Linked DNA regions of Homo sapiens: region 2 is linked to region 1. Evidence: promoter capture Hi-C in 16 types of primary human blood cells and fetal thymus (Javierre and others, 2016). All regions are on one chromosome and are shown on one strand. The core of a region is centred on a gene start or on the middle of the fragment in contact, and the rest is flanking DNA. Distances in the headings are between cores, read along the strand shown.

Region 1 (6,917 bases), core at 2,972-5,471:
AATCACACCACTTCCACATGGCCATTGTCAGGATCGAGATAATGTAAGAGAAAATACCTAATACATGGTTATTATCATACATGGGGTATTTGAGAAATGTTTGTTCAGTATTTACTGAGCACCTACTATGCAGCAGACACTTCCAGGAACTGAAGATTCATCAGAGAACAAAACAACAGGTCTGCTCAGCTGGGATTGATGTTCTAAATGGGAGAGACAACCAGAAAGAAAAAAGAGAAGGAGAGAGAGAGACAGATGATAGATAAATAAATAGCCAGTCAGTTAGTCTGGTATTGATAAGCACTAGAAAGAAAAATCAAACCCAATAAGGATGAGGAGAAAGAGGAGTGGTCATACTATGCCAGGTACGGTAGCCAAGAAAGACCTCACTGATGAGAGATATCTGATGAGAAATCTGAGTGGAATAAAGGCATGACTATGGGATTATATGGGGAAGGGTGTCCCAGGCAGGGCAAGAGCTCATGCCAAACCCTGGGGCAGGTATGATGGGCTGGGCTGACCCCAGAGACAGAAGGACGCCAGCGGGGTGGGAGCACCCGAGTGAGGAGACACACGTGGAAAGTGCAGTGGGAAGGGAAGCCAAGAGCAAAGGTGAGGCAGGGGAAGTCTCAAGCCCTGGCCATGTCTTAGGTGCCTTTAAACACCTGGAGACATAGTGGGCAGGGGCCAGTGACAGACGGGGCTGCACTCCTGCCCCTCTGCCTTCCTTACACAGAGGAGGATCTACCAACTGTGCTCCAACGGCCTCACTCCTTCATGTTTTCAACTATTCAAATGTTTGCTCAAATGACAAATATTGGCTCCAGTGGCTTCCATGGGCAGGCAGCAGTCTTAGCTCTAGAGACAGAAACTATGAGCAAAACTTGAAATCTTGCTTTTCATGGACCTACCTGGCCATGGAAGGAGAGAGAATACATCAAAACATAAATAAAGGCATTGGCTGGGCTACAAAGACAATCAAATAAGGTGGGCTGATAGAGTCCCCCTCTTAGATATAAAAATCCTCTTGGGCCAGGATCCTCCTGTCGCCTTATATTTCAATGCCTAGTTCTAGCATAGTCCTAACTGGTGCTCTGAGTAGCATTGCTCTAAACAATTGACCAACAGTAACCAAAGTAGGCTGGCAACAGTCCCAAGAGATCAAGAGAGCTCCCATTTTCCTCCTGGCATGAACTTTTTCAAACCACAAGGTTGAGGAAATGCCAACCTTTTACATAACTAAGAAATTTCTAAGACGTTGAGTTTTTTGTTTGCTTGGTTTGTTTTCTCTTTTTGTTTTTTAAACCTGCCACAAAATCATCTGGGGTCTTTATTAAATAAAATACAAATGTCTGGGCCCCGCCTTAGACTCACTGAATCAGAATAACTGGAGAAGGAGCCCAGGCAACTGTATTTTCAATGACCTTCTAAGGAATGTGGATGCTACATTGCTGATGCTTGAGATCCTCTGCTCTAATGCAAAAGTACAATCCACAAGGCTTCTTTCCATTTCAGTTGTAATTGTCTCCACAAAGCATTCTTAAGAAAGCTCTTCTGTAAACTTCCTTTGCAGAAACTGCAGCACTAGTCACAAGCTGACTGTTCAGAGAAATGCACGGGGAGACAGTGCCCGCATGACGGGAGCAGCCCATCAGCTGACCCGTTCATTCAAAAAACTCCACGTGTAGAGACACTGGATGGCTTTAGTGGAAGTGCCTCATTGTCTGGGGAGCTGAAGGAGAGACTTTCTGGAATATTCCCTACCTGTGAAGAGGGCATGGTAGTGGAGGCCCTTCTCCTTGTCCTGATGGGAGCAGACATCAAATAAGTAGGCTTTGATGGGCCCATCAATGAAGTCGGCAGCAAAATCAAAGAGAACGACACCTATCATGGTGACACTTATGGCCCAAACCAGCTTCCTCCTTGGGTTAGCAATCAAAGCTAAAAGAAAAATAAACATTGGTCTCCTAAATCCTGTTTTAGAATCATCCGCGTTTTGTAATTTCCACCTAAACTTCTTGCCATAAAATCATCTTCCTTGCTTTTATTTTGCTTTTTTCCAAATAAAAATAGCTTTACATTTTTTTTCAGGTTTTAAAAATTATGCAAGCGAATGTCCAGAAAACACAAATCTATGGAGACACAAAGTAAATTAGTGGTTGCTTAGGGCTGGTGCATAGGGGAAAAGTGGACGTGACTATTGATGGTAATGGGTTTATTTTGGGGGTGATGAAAATGTTGTAGAATTAGAGAGTGGTAATGGTTGCACAACATACTAAAGGCACTGAATTGTACACTTTTAATTAGTGAAATTTCTGGTATGTAAAATATCTCCTTAAATAAAAAAGTATGCATGCTTATCGCAAGCAATTCCAATTCTATTAAAAAAGCTGAGGGAGATGCTTCCAATCCCAGCCCCAGCAAAGGTCAGGCTTTAAGGCCTCCTTTTACGCACTTCTGCACATACAGACACACGTGTACAATGGTAGTCAAACGCAGTGCTTCTCAAAGTCTGGCATATTGAACTATCGCTTGTATGTCTTGTTAAAACACAGATTGCTGGCCCCATTTCCCAAGACTCTGATTCAATTGGTGGGCCTGAAGGGGGCCCGAGAAACTGCATCTCTAACGGTCTCTGCTGATGCTGAGGGGCAGGTCAGAGGCCACATCTTTGAACAGCACTGATGCAGTAACCAACTTTCTTCATATAATTTCAGCTCCTCACAATTTTTAACAGCTGGATTTTCATTCTACGGATACGCTGTAATCGTTTACCCAATCTCCTATAAAAGATACATTGTTGTTTCTCTTGTTTCCATTTGCTTTTTAAACTTAAGAATAGCATAGATTATATACACGTTTTAAAAATTGCAGTATAAAATTAAATGAACAATAAGTCTACCCGCCACTTCTCACCTCCTGTCCTTCAGTAATCCTCCTTAGAGTCAACAATGCTTATCAGCTTTTTGTTCATTCTCCTGGAAATATCCTACATTTGTACATTTACGCTTTCTTTCAAATATGTACAAATGATAATTGATTATCCTGCCTCATAATCACCGATTCTGCTAGCTTGAGAGTTAATGATCTACAAATGTGTGCTATTTTTAGCGATCCTTTTTGCAATGCAACTTTATTGTACTACCATCAATTACTGATTAATTGGTAGCTGATTAATGGCTAGAAAAAATGCCTACCCTCAGGTTTGCTTTTGTCCAGAATTTGCAATGCCAGAAAGGTCCTCTTGAGCTGATGGGCTTATGCCCTACGCCTATTAAAACGCTCTACATAAAACTATGAACAGAATTAACTTATTTGGATACACAGGTGACTTATTGTAAATATTTATGGAGCTATTTGGCAGCCAGTCAATTTGATAAGAGTATTAAATAGAGCATAATGGGCTCAAAAAGTAACTCAATTGATAAATATGTAAAAATATTCAATTCGATAAAATAGATACAAATTTAATAAAATAGATACAAATTTAATCCTATTTTTAAATCTTCACAACAATGAAACATATTTATTTTGATATTTCTAGAAGTAGAGGCTCCCCAACCACAGAATCTGGGCCAAATTTGTCAAAGGGGAAGTTCATTGTAACCTAGGAGAGATCAATTCTAACAAATTTCTAGGAAAGGTCAAACACATGAACATCCTCCTCCTGCAGAGGTACACACTAAGACACATATCCCTGTCTGCCCACCTTGTGCAGCCCACTTACCTGCTACAACAGTAGCCCCATTGAGGTACAGAGCCATGCCCACGAGCATCATGACTCCCAGGGTGAGGATGTAGGGTCTCCGGCGGCCCCACCTGGACCGGCAGTGGTCGCTGGCCGATCCGACCACGGGCTGCAGCAGGAATCCCAGGATGGGGCTGAGGAACCACACAATGCTGTACAGGCTGCTGGGCAGACCTACGCTGAGCAGGACTGGGGTCACATACGCTGCCTCCACCGCGTAGCAGAACTCTCTTCCGAACATGGCCATGCTGTGCATGATGAGTCTGCTGGTGGGTCTTTTAGGCGGCTCCACAGAGTCAAAGGGGCCATCATCAGCTAGGGATTTATAGATGTGGCGGCCAGCCTGCCCACTGTTGCTACCCATGGCCACTGGGAGAGGAACCTTCCTGCGAGCCCACCACCTCCTGCGTGGTCCTAGGGTCTGTGTTTCAAACTGGATTTGACGTGGAGCCTGGCCGAGCAACCAACAGAGATGGTCAGGCTGGGGGAGGGGCTCAAATTCTTTCCTGCCTCTAAGATCACAAGTTATGATGAGAGGGAGGGGGTGGTGCTGGAAAGCATGACAGAGATTAGCAGCTGTGAATCAGCCCTCTGGCTCCATAAGACGTTGGAATACTTTTCTAAAGGGATCCTCCTTTGTACTGTTCCCTCTCTCTTTCTCTCTCTCTCACACACACACACAATTACACGTGATCACACACATGGCTTCTCTCCCTCTCACACACACGTTATTACACGTGATCACACACATGGGCTCTCTCAGACAGTATTACACATGATCACACACATGGTTTCTCTCTCACACACACATGCTATTACACATGATCACACACGTGGCTTCTCTCACACACACATTATTACACATGATCACACACATGGCTTCTCTCACACACACGCTATTAAACGTGATCACACCTGGCTTCTCACACACACATGCTATTACACATGATCACACACGGCTTCTCACACACATGCTATTACACATGATCACACACATGGCTTCTCTCACACACATTACACATGATCACACATGGTTTCTCACATACATGCTATTACACATGATCACACACGGCTTCTCTCATGCATGTTATTACACATGATCATACACATGGCTTCTCACACACATGCTATTACACATGATCACACATGGCTTCTCTCACACACATTACACATGGTCACACATGGCTTCTCTCACATGCGTTATTACACATGATCATACATGGCTTCTCTCTCACATGCTATTACACATGATCACACATGGCTTCTCATGCATTTTATTACACATGACCACACACATGGCTTCTCTCACACACGTTATTACACATGGTCACACATGGCTTCTCTCACGTTATTACACATGATCATACATGGCTTCTCTCACACATTATTACACATGACAGCTTCTCTCTCACACACTATTGCACATGATCACACATGGCTTCTCTCACACACACATGCTATTGCACATGATCACACATGGTTTCTCTCTCACACACGTTATTACACAACGATCACACACGGCTTCTCTCTCATACACATTATTACACATGACCACACACATGGCTTTTCTCTCACACACACTATTACACATGATCACACATGGGGCTTTTCTCGTTATTACACATGATCGGACTCATGGCTTCTCTCACACACACATGCTATTACACATGATTGCACACATAGCTTCTCTCTCACACACGTGTTATTACACATCACACACGGCTTCTCACACACGTTATTTTACACGATCACACACATGGCTTCTCTCACACACGTTATTTTACATGATCACACACATGGCTTCTCTCTCACAGACGTTATTACACATAATTACATATGGCTTCTCTCTCTCATACACACATGCTATTACACATGATCACACACATGGCCGTGAGGTAATAAAGCCTTATTACATAGAGTTTGTCAAAATGTAAATAAATTGATATCTTTTCATAAACTTTTTATAAATATAGACATTCTATTTTTTACTACAAGTTTTCCACACACACAGCTCAGGAGTGAAATAACTAGATTTAAAATGGTGGCAGGTCACACCCTTCTTCAAATCATTAGCTGTGTCAGATCGCCCTGATATTTCTCCTCGTGGTACTTAACACATTTTACAATGAGATAATTCTGGGTTTATTCCATATCCTGTGTTTGTCTTTGATTTCCTCAAGAGCGGAGAACAGGTCTGTTTTGTTCATTATGGTATCCCCAGCAAGTATCATGATACCTGGCACCTAGTAGATCCTCAATAAACATTTGCTAAAGGAATTACTGAGTGAATAAACCATACACACTGCATTTTGTGCTGCCTGTCTGCTCAGATCTATTTCCTTTGGTGCTCTTTATCTTATGGGGCTACATTTCCAGGGTTCCCTTGTTTTCTGGCTTCTAGGTAGATTTGGCTAATGGGAGACACTGGTAGGAAGACTAGGGGAGAGAGAGAAGGAAAGAAGCCAGGATATTTCCCTAGATTTCTTTCTTCTCCCTGAGGTATTACTGCCAGTGTCTATGTCTCCAAGGTGGGTGCAGCAACTTTGGCTTCTGGGTCCAAGTACACCAGCTTTCCCATCACCCCTGCAACCATAGGAGTGGTCTTGGCTTCCTAGTTATGTTCCTATCAGGGTTGCCTCACTATCTTCTGGGCTTCTCTGCTCTTTCGTCACCAGTGGAATTCTTTATATTAAATTTCCTCTGTTTTAAAGACTTCGAGTGGGTTATATTTTCCTTGCTGGACCGAGTTCAAATGAAAAGTCTGAGTTGTAGGGAAAACATCTTTTTTATTATTATTATTTTTATTTATTTATTTAGAGACAGGTTCTTGTTCTGTTGCCTGGGCTAGAGTGCAGTGGTGCAATCCTAATTCACTGTGGCCTCAAATTCCTGGGCTCAAGTGATCCTCCTGCCCCACCCTTGAGTAGATAGGACTACAGGCACACACCACCATACCTGGATAATTTTTTTATTTTTATTTCGTAGAAACGGAGGTCCAGCCAAGTTCCCCAGGCTGGTCTCGAACTCTTGGCCTCAAGTGATCCTCCATGCCTGGGCTGGAAAACATAACCTTATGGGAAAGTTCCTAAAAATGGTTGAAGAACAAGACTGAAGGCTAGAATATGAAAGCTTAAATTCTGATTCTGCCCCTTCCTAGTTGCATATTCCT
Region 2 (6,917 bases), core at 1,728-4,227, 93 kb before region 1:
GTAATGTAGTGTCTGAATCTGTCTCCAAATGTGGAACCCTGTGCAATTCCCTTTACCCTCCTCGTGAAGGGGCATTTATTAGGTGCTCAATCATATATGTTGACTAACTGATGCCCTAGACCTCCCATTCCTTATCCATAAAAGTAAAAATGGGGGCGAGGCATGATGGCTCATTCCTGTAATCGCAGCATTTGGGGAGGCTGAAGTGGGAGAATTGCTTAAGGCCAGGAGTTCAAGATCAGTCTGGACAACATAGCTAGACCTCATCTCTATTAAAAAAAAAATTAAATATTTCAAAAATAAGAATGGGTGAGATGATCCTGAAGTAATTTGCAAGTTTAAACGTTCAGGATTTGAATGCATTCAAAAATGCTATCAAAGTGGAAATGGAAGTCTAAGGAGATTGGTTATTTGTGAGGCTGTAGGTAGGTCATTTGGAGGGAAAAACCCAGGCCATCCTAATCCCAGATAGCCTTAGAATTTCATTCTCTACTGGTTTGCCCTCATCCATCCCTTCCTCCCTCTTTGTGACTTTCCTTCTTAATTCTAAATGTAAGTCTGCTTAGAAATTTCTCCTTTGCACCAAATGTGGATTATTTGTAAATCCACTAGGGAATTGATTGTGGTTGGTGAAATGCTTTTAAAAACTGAAATTATTGGCTGGGTACAGTAGTTCACACCTGTAATCCCAGCACTTTAAGAGGCCAAGGTGGGCAGATCACCTGAGGTCAGGAGTTGGAGACAGCCTGGCCAACATGGTGAAACCTCGTCTGTACTAAAAATACAAAAATTAGCCGGGCATGGTGGCACACGTCTGTAATCCCAGGTACTTGGTTGGCTGAGGCAGGAGAATCACTTGAACCCGGGAGGCAGAGGTTGCAGTGAGCTGAGATTGCACCACCGCACTCCAGCCTGAGAGACAGAGCAAGACTCAGCCTCGAAAAACAAAAACCTCTAATTATTTTTAAACCTAAATAAATATATATATCACCAATAAGCTTGGAGCACTTTATAGGTTTTTTGAACAGTGGATACTCTCAGCACATAGCTCTAGATAGAGGTGACTAGGGAAAATAATCATATCTCACTTTCCAGAGAGCAAAAACCATGGCCCCGTGGTGTCTGCTTCACACCAAGCTGAATTCCCTTACAAAGAAGATGTGGAGCAGAGCTGAAAACCAACCCAGGAGAATGTGTGTCTTTGAACGAAATCATCTCCAAATGCCCTGGGAAGTGCTTGCAGGCTTTGTTTGTGCTGCCCCAGAAGGGAGACTTTTCACAAAGGAACTGTTTTTCAAAGAACAACAAGCCCTGCTATTTTAAACTTGGGGGTGGGAGATTGTATCTGGACCGTTTACACAAGTGAGTGCTGGCTGACTGACATCTAACCCCAGTGTTTGCTGGCTCCAGCTTTCCAAGTAAAGCAAAGAGAGGGACTTGCTTCTGATACGTCTTGAAGCCACAGCAGATGAGTTGTCCAGCAATATTTGAATTTTACAACATGAGCAGAAAACCCTGCTTAGAAATCCTAAACAAGGACAGGCTGGTGATGTTTATCACCCGAGTGGCCTTGGGAATTAAAGGGATGTCAGAAAGTCATGGAGGACACTTCCCGAGGCTTCAGCACAGTCAGCAAACACAGGACTTAGTGCATGCTAACCCAGTGCTCTGTGTGCGTGTGCATGCGTGTGGGTGCATATGCGTGTGTGTGTGCGTGTGTGTCCCTATTATTGCTACAGGACAGTGCTGCATGATTCTAAGAGTCAGACTACCTGAGCTGAAAACTCTGCTCTACATTAGCTGGCCTCATAAGCTCTCCAAGCTGCAGCATCCTCATCTGTACAGCAGGGACAGCAACACTGGTACCTGCACCCTGGAAGGCTATTGCCAGTGATCGGATGGGCTGACACAGAGTGCCACGCGGGCCATTGCTGCTGCTAGGACTGTTTACCCCCAGAGGTACAATGAACCCCCCACCAAACATGAAGGTGCCTCTGACCCTTCCAAGTCCAATAAACTGCTGACTGTTAGGCTTAAAAGAATAAAACAACAACAACAAATTGTCCACCAGAACGCTTCCAATGCTTCCTACAATAACATGAGTTCAGAAATTCATAAAGAGAAGCAGCCAGCTGTGGTCAGTGAGACAGGACAGGAAAAAGTGAGCCCTTATGGAGGTATAGTTCCCCCAAAAGGACTATTCTTTCAAAAATACAACCCTAAATCTTTCCAGGAAACCAAAACACAGCCAAGCCTGCTCAGTAGGGGGGAAGAATCACATTTCCCCTTTCCTGACCAGAGGTTTAAAACTAACTAGAAACACTGCAATGACGGCCAGTAGCCAGTTAGCACTTAAAAAAAAAATTTTCCATGTTTAGAGTCTGAAAAATAGGGGATCAAAACAGTACAGCATTCAAAGAGGAGACAAAAGAGAAAAAGTTACCAGCTACCTCTTGGGTCTTTCAAAGACTGCAGTGTCATCCCTGTAAAAGAGTGAGGTACTCACCTTTCTATAAGAATGAAGGACTCATCACCTTAAGCACTGAATTCTGAGAAAGCCTAGGCTCCTGAGGTCCCAGCCCAGATTTCCTTACAACGCAGCCAAATGGCTTTTCAGAGTTCAGTTCTGCCGGGTGGGGGAAGGGAAAGGGGAGCAACAAAATTCCCGCAAGTCTTACCACCACTGTTTTAAAAAGAAATAAAGAAGAGTCACTAACCTTGCCTCCTGTCCGGGAAGCGAACCGGGCCTGGCTGAGGCTGTCTCCCATAGCAAAGCGCCCCAAAGTTAAGGAGCTGAGCCACCACGGAAAGGTTTGCAAGCCAGCTCCTCTGGGCACATGGCATGATTCAGATGTTGAGGAGAAGAAAAGTCAAAAAAGTTTTAGCCCTCAGCTCCAGAAATAAAGCGCTCGCCTGTGGCCCAGCAGGAAGATGCAGGGGTGCATGGTCAGGCGCGAGAAGGCAGCGACTGCAAAGCTGCCCGCGATCTCCCTGTGCTTTTTTAAGCAGAAAGGAGCTAGACACCTTTTTCCCCTCCCTCCTCCTAAAAGGGGAGTGATTCAGCTGACAGTGTCCGCTTTCGGCGGGGTGTGGAATGGGCCAGAGCGGGAGGGCGCAGCCCACCCCGGTCCCCACCCCTCCGCCTCCCGCATGCCCCGCGGCCTCGCAGCCCGCCCGCTCGGTGCATCTTCCTCCCGGACTCCCACCCCCGCGCTCCTCCGGCCCCGCCCCGAACGCCAGGCCCAGCTGGCCGAGCCGGCCAAATAGGGGAGACCCGGGAGAGCCGCCCTGGGAGGCACTGGAGGAAGCTGCGAGTGAGAGGCCCCCAGGCCAGCCCCCCGGCGTGCTTAAATACAAGCTCAAAATGAGGAGAACAGAGTTGAGGCAGAGGGGGGCCCCACTCCCTCCATCCTTCCGCGCTCAGCGCTGCCCCCTCCCCTGCTGTTCTCCTCCAAGTTCCTGAACTTTTCCCAACATCGCTCTATCAAGACTCCTCACCCACTCGGACCGCTCTGGGATTCTCTTCCACTGGAAAAACTAATAGGCGATTTTTCTCTTTGCCAAGTCACACAAAGGGAAATGGGCTGCGCTAATCTGCTAATGTGACCTCAGACAAGCCCCCTCAGCTGTGCAATGAGGTGACTGCTGCAAATGCCTGTGGGCCCCTCTGAGTCTGCAGATCTCTGTGCGGCTCTTCTGATTCTAGAACCCCATCTTTCCTAGCCCACCTCCATTCACTCAAAAGGAAACCAGGAATTAAGTCAACCCAGGAAGGTGTTAAGGTATCTCCCCAGTTTCCCTGAACTGGCTACCCTGGAGAGGGCGTCCATTCATTCAGAGGCTCAAGCTTTTACATCGGTCAGAGAATGCCACAATCCAGGACGCTTGCCAGGCATCTTGAGAATTTACTGGGCTAATCCAGCCAAGATTTTTCACCTCTGAGCTGAAACAGGCCTCCTTACTCCATTCAGGAAGAATTCGGCCCCCAATATTGACTTTTCCCTGGCTGCCAGCCAACCACATGTGTTAATCAAGAGTTCTGGGATACCAGCTTACTCAACCTTGTATAGGGACAGAGCCTCCAAGGCAAACTCAGTGGTCTGAAAGCAAGGTGGTCCTCTCAGATGTGGAACACATGGGCACCAAGACTTTGAGAGGTATATGCTAGTTTCCTATTTTTGGTGTTACAAGTTACCATAAATTCAGTGGCTTGAAACAACTCAAATTTCTTATGTGACAGTTCTGATCTGAAACTGGTCTCACTGGGCTAAAATCAAGGAGTTAGCACAGCTGCATTCATTTCTGAAGACTCTAGGGGAGAATCTGTTGTCTTGCCTTTTCCAACTTCTAGAGGCTGCCTGAATTCCTCAGCTCATGGCCCTCTTCCCCCATCAAAGCTAGCAATGGCCCTTTGAGTCTTTCTCACATCACATCACTCTTCTTCCTCCCTTTTCCACTTATAAGGACCCTTGCGATTACATTAGACTCATCCTGGTTAACCAGGACACTCTCCTAATCAGCTGATTAGCAACCTTAATTCCATCTGCAACCTTAAATCCCCTTTACGTGTAACAGAACATGTTTTGTTGTCACAAGCAAGTAAAAGAACTACTCTGAGCCTTTTTTCTGTTACGTAAACATTAGGAAGCAGGATCACAACTGGAGTTAAAAGACATTCAGATAACACAGGCATGATGACCTGCATTTGCAAGGGCATTGAAGAACAACTTTGGGCTAGAATTCTTTTTGCTTCTTTTCTTTTCTTCCTCTTCCCCTTCTTCTTTGCTTCCCTTCACCCTTTCCTTGTTTCTCTCTCCTCCTTGTACTCTTCTGTCACTCTTCTTCTTCCACCTTTTTTTCTCCTGCTGCTCCTTTTAATAGCAAGCAAGATCTTGTCCAAAGGGCAAGATCACTCCTAGCTCCCAGGTCCTGGAGAAGAGATTTGTCTCTCAGGCAGAAACCTGAAGAACTCTGGAGAACTGCTGAGTTCCACCAATATCAGGGATGATACACTGAACACTCTGGCTTCACAGTTTAGCCTCTTCAACTCTAATGGCATTTCCCTTATTCTTTCTCCCATCTACTCTCAAGACCATAACCAGGAATATCTATTATCCATAAGTCAACCAAGACTGAAATATTAAAATTATAAAATCCCACCAACACTTTGTATTCTGCCAGCCCTTCCAAACCTTTATACCCAGTACCTCGGATCTTCAGCCTAGTAGGAACTTCTAGTTCCTTGATCTCCCCATCTTTGGTTTTCTAATAATCAGCATCTCTCTGGACTCACCACCTTTTTTGCCCAGTCATACCCTTTGATCCACCTCCTTAAACCAGTACATTCAACATCTCATATCTTCCTCATCAAAATCTAACTCTGTTTTACCCTAGCTGCTGATTTTCTCTGCTCTCTGTTTCCAAGTGCTGTTGAAAAAACTCACATAATTGCATCTAATTGTGCAACTATCAATTCATGTCTCCAACTTTAGCACGTTCTCAACATGACTTAGCACAAATATACATTCTGCTACTATTCTAACGTTCCTCCTACTCTTTCCAGAATTTACAAAAATCTCTCCAAAGCTTGGAGTTACCTCAGCGTAGAGAGACTTAATCCTCCTCAACTTTGCTTCTGCTTAATGAGAAAAGGTAACAAATCCCCTTGGTGACCAAGGTTGGTAGCAATAAAAAAGCCAACTACCTCTCCTGCCCACTGTAGATAGCAGAACTGTGAATCACTGCATAGTATCCAAACTACCTCTGAGCTTATACAAACATGCTGCCCTTGAGGAAACACTACAAAACCATGCAAGATTCCAGAGTTGAATGATAGCTAAGAATAGCAAGCATTTATTACATGCTGACTATATGCTTGGCTCTGTGCTAAAGACTATATGGGTATTGCTTTACTTAAACTTCATAAAAAACTTATTATGTGGGTACCATTAGTATCTTCATTTTATAGATGAGGAAACAGACACTGAAAGGTTAAGTAACTTGCCTAGGATTAAGTGGCTGTGAAAGTAAAATCAGGATGAAGCACTAAAGTTCAGAGAAGTTAAAAGATGTAGCAAAACCACTAAGTCAATTCAAATATAGGTCTGTTTTACTTCAGGCCCCTAGTAATGTCCTCATCCACAAAGAGTGAAGAGGATTAGAACACTGACATATAGACATCATCAGAATGCCTTGGGTGGTAGTTTAGTTCATTATAGTATTTTTCCATGTAAAAATGCAATTTGTGACCCAAGATCTAAGATACCTCACAAAGAGCTCCCTCTGTTTCATTAGCAAATAAGGCATAAAAAATGTTCATACTTTCCTAATAAACCGTTAGGATCACAAGGGATGGCTGAAGTTCAAGGAAAATTAGCTTAATGCATCTTTCGGAGCTGTCATTAGCATTGGAAAGACAAAAAATAAATTGACAGTGGCCCAAAAAACCCTGAGTTGGACCTAAGAATCACAAATGAATATGCCACAAAAAGAGACTTTACATCTGTTAATTCTGCCTAAACACCACAATCATCATCTCACAGCAATAATCATTGTGTTGAACATTACAGTTTTTAAGGTGTTTCTCCCAAGCAGGTCAAAGGGTAGAAGGGAGAAAAATCTTCATCTGACGTTTTCAAGAGTAGTTAGACCTTAATTCCACCTGAAACTCAAAAAGTAGTGACTTCAAACATCATATTTAAATACTGTTGCCACATGTATTATTTTCTTTTAAATCTTTCTGCAACCAGATCTCACAAGAATTCTCTCAAGTTACTGAGACCACGAAAGTCTCTTTTTTTTAACTCCACTTCCAACTTTGCTGTAAGTTTGAGATTGCTTCTAAATTTTATTAAACTATCAAATGTCTTAGTCTGTTCTCATTCTTTATAACAATTGAAAGCTTGGTAGAGATGCTG

The links. The method cuts DNA at HindIII sites, captures the fragments that hold promoters and counts their contacts. A CHiCAGO score of 5 or more calls a contact.
Region 2: the fragment with the promoter of ADAMTS12 here is called in contact with the fragment with the promoter of SLC45A2 in region 1 in 8 of 17 cell types (total CD4 T cells, naive CD8 T cells, neutrophils and 5 more); the score reaches 7.3 in total CD4 T cells.

What each region holds. Positions count from the first base shown.
Region 1 is chr5:33,980,472-33,987,388 of GRCh38, forward strand. It overlaps SLC45A2 (solute carrier family 45 member 2), which reads right to left and starts at 4,222. Exons shown (of 7, transcript NM_016180.5): 1 at 3,728-4,222; 2 at 1,765-1,941. The coding sequence starts at 4,112. It overlaps AMACR (alpha-methylacyl-CoA racemase), which reads right to left. Exons shown (of 5, transcript NM_014324.6): 5 at 5,694-6,917. C1QTNF3-AMACR (C1QTNF3-AMACR readthrough (NMD candidate)) reads right to left here. Exons shown (of 9, transcript NR_037951.1): 9 at 6,515-6,917. The HindIII fragment of the contact is 8,753 bases long and covers 1-6,875 here.
Region 2 is chr5:33,889,013-33,895,929 of GRCh38, forward strand. It overlaps ADAMTS12 (ADAM metallopeptidase with thrombospondin type 1 motif 12), which reads right to left and starts at 2,978. Exons shown (of 24, transcript NM_030955.4): 1 at 2,718-2,978. The coding sequence starts at 2,844. RefSeq lists enhancers at 2,260-2,761, 2,762-3,261. The HindIII fragment of the contact is 2,849 bases long and covers 997-3,845 here.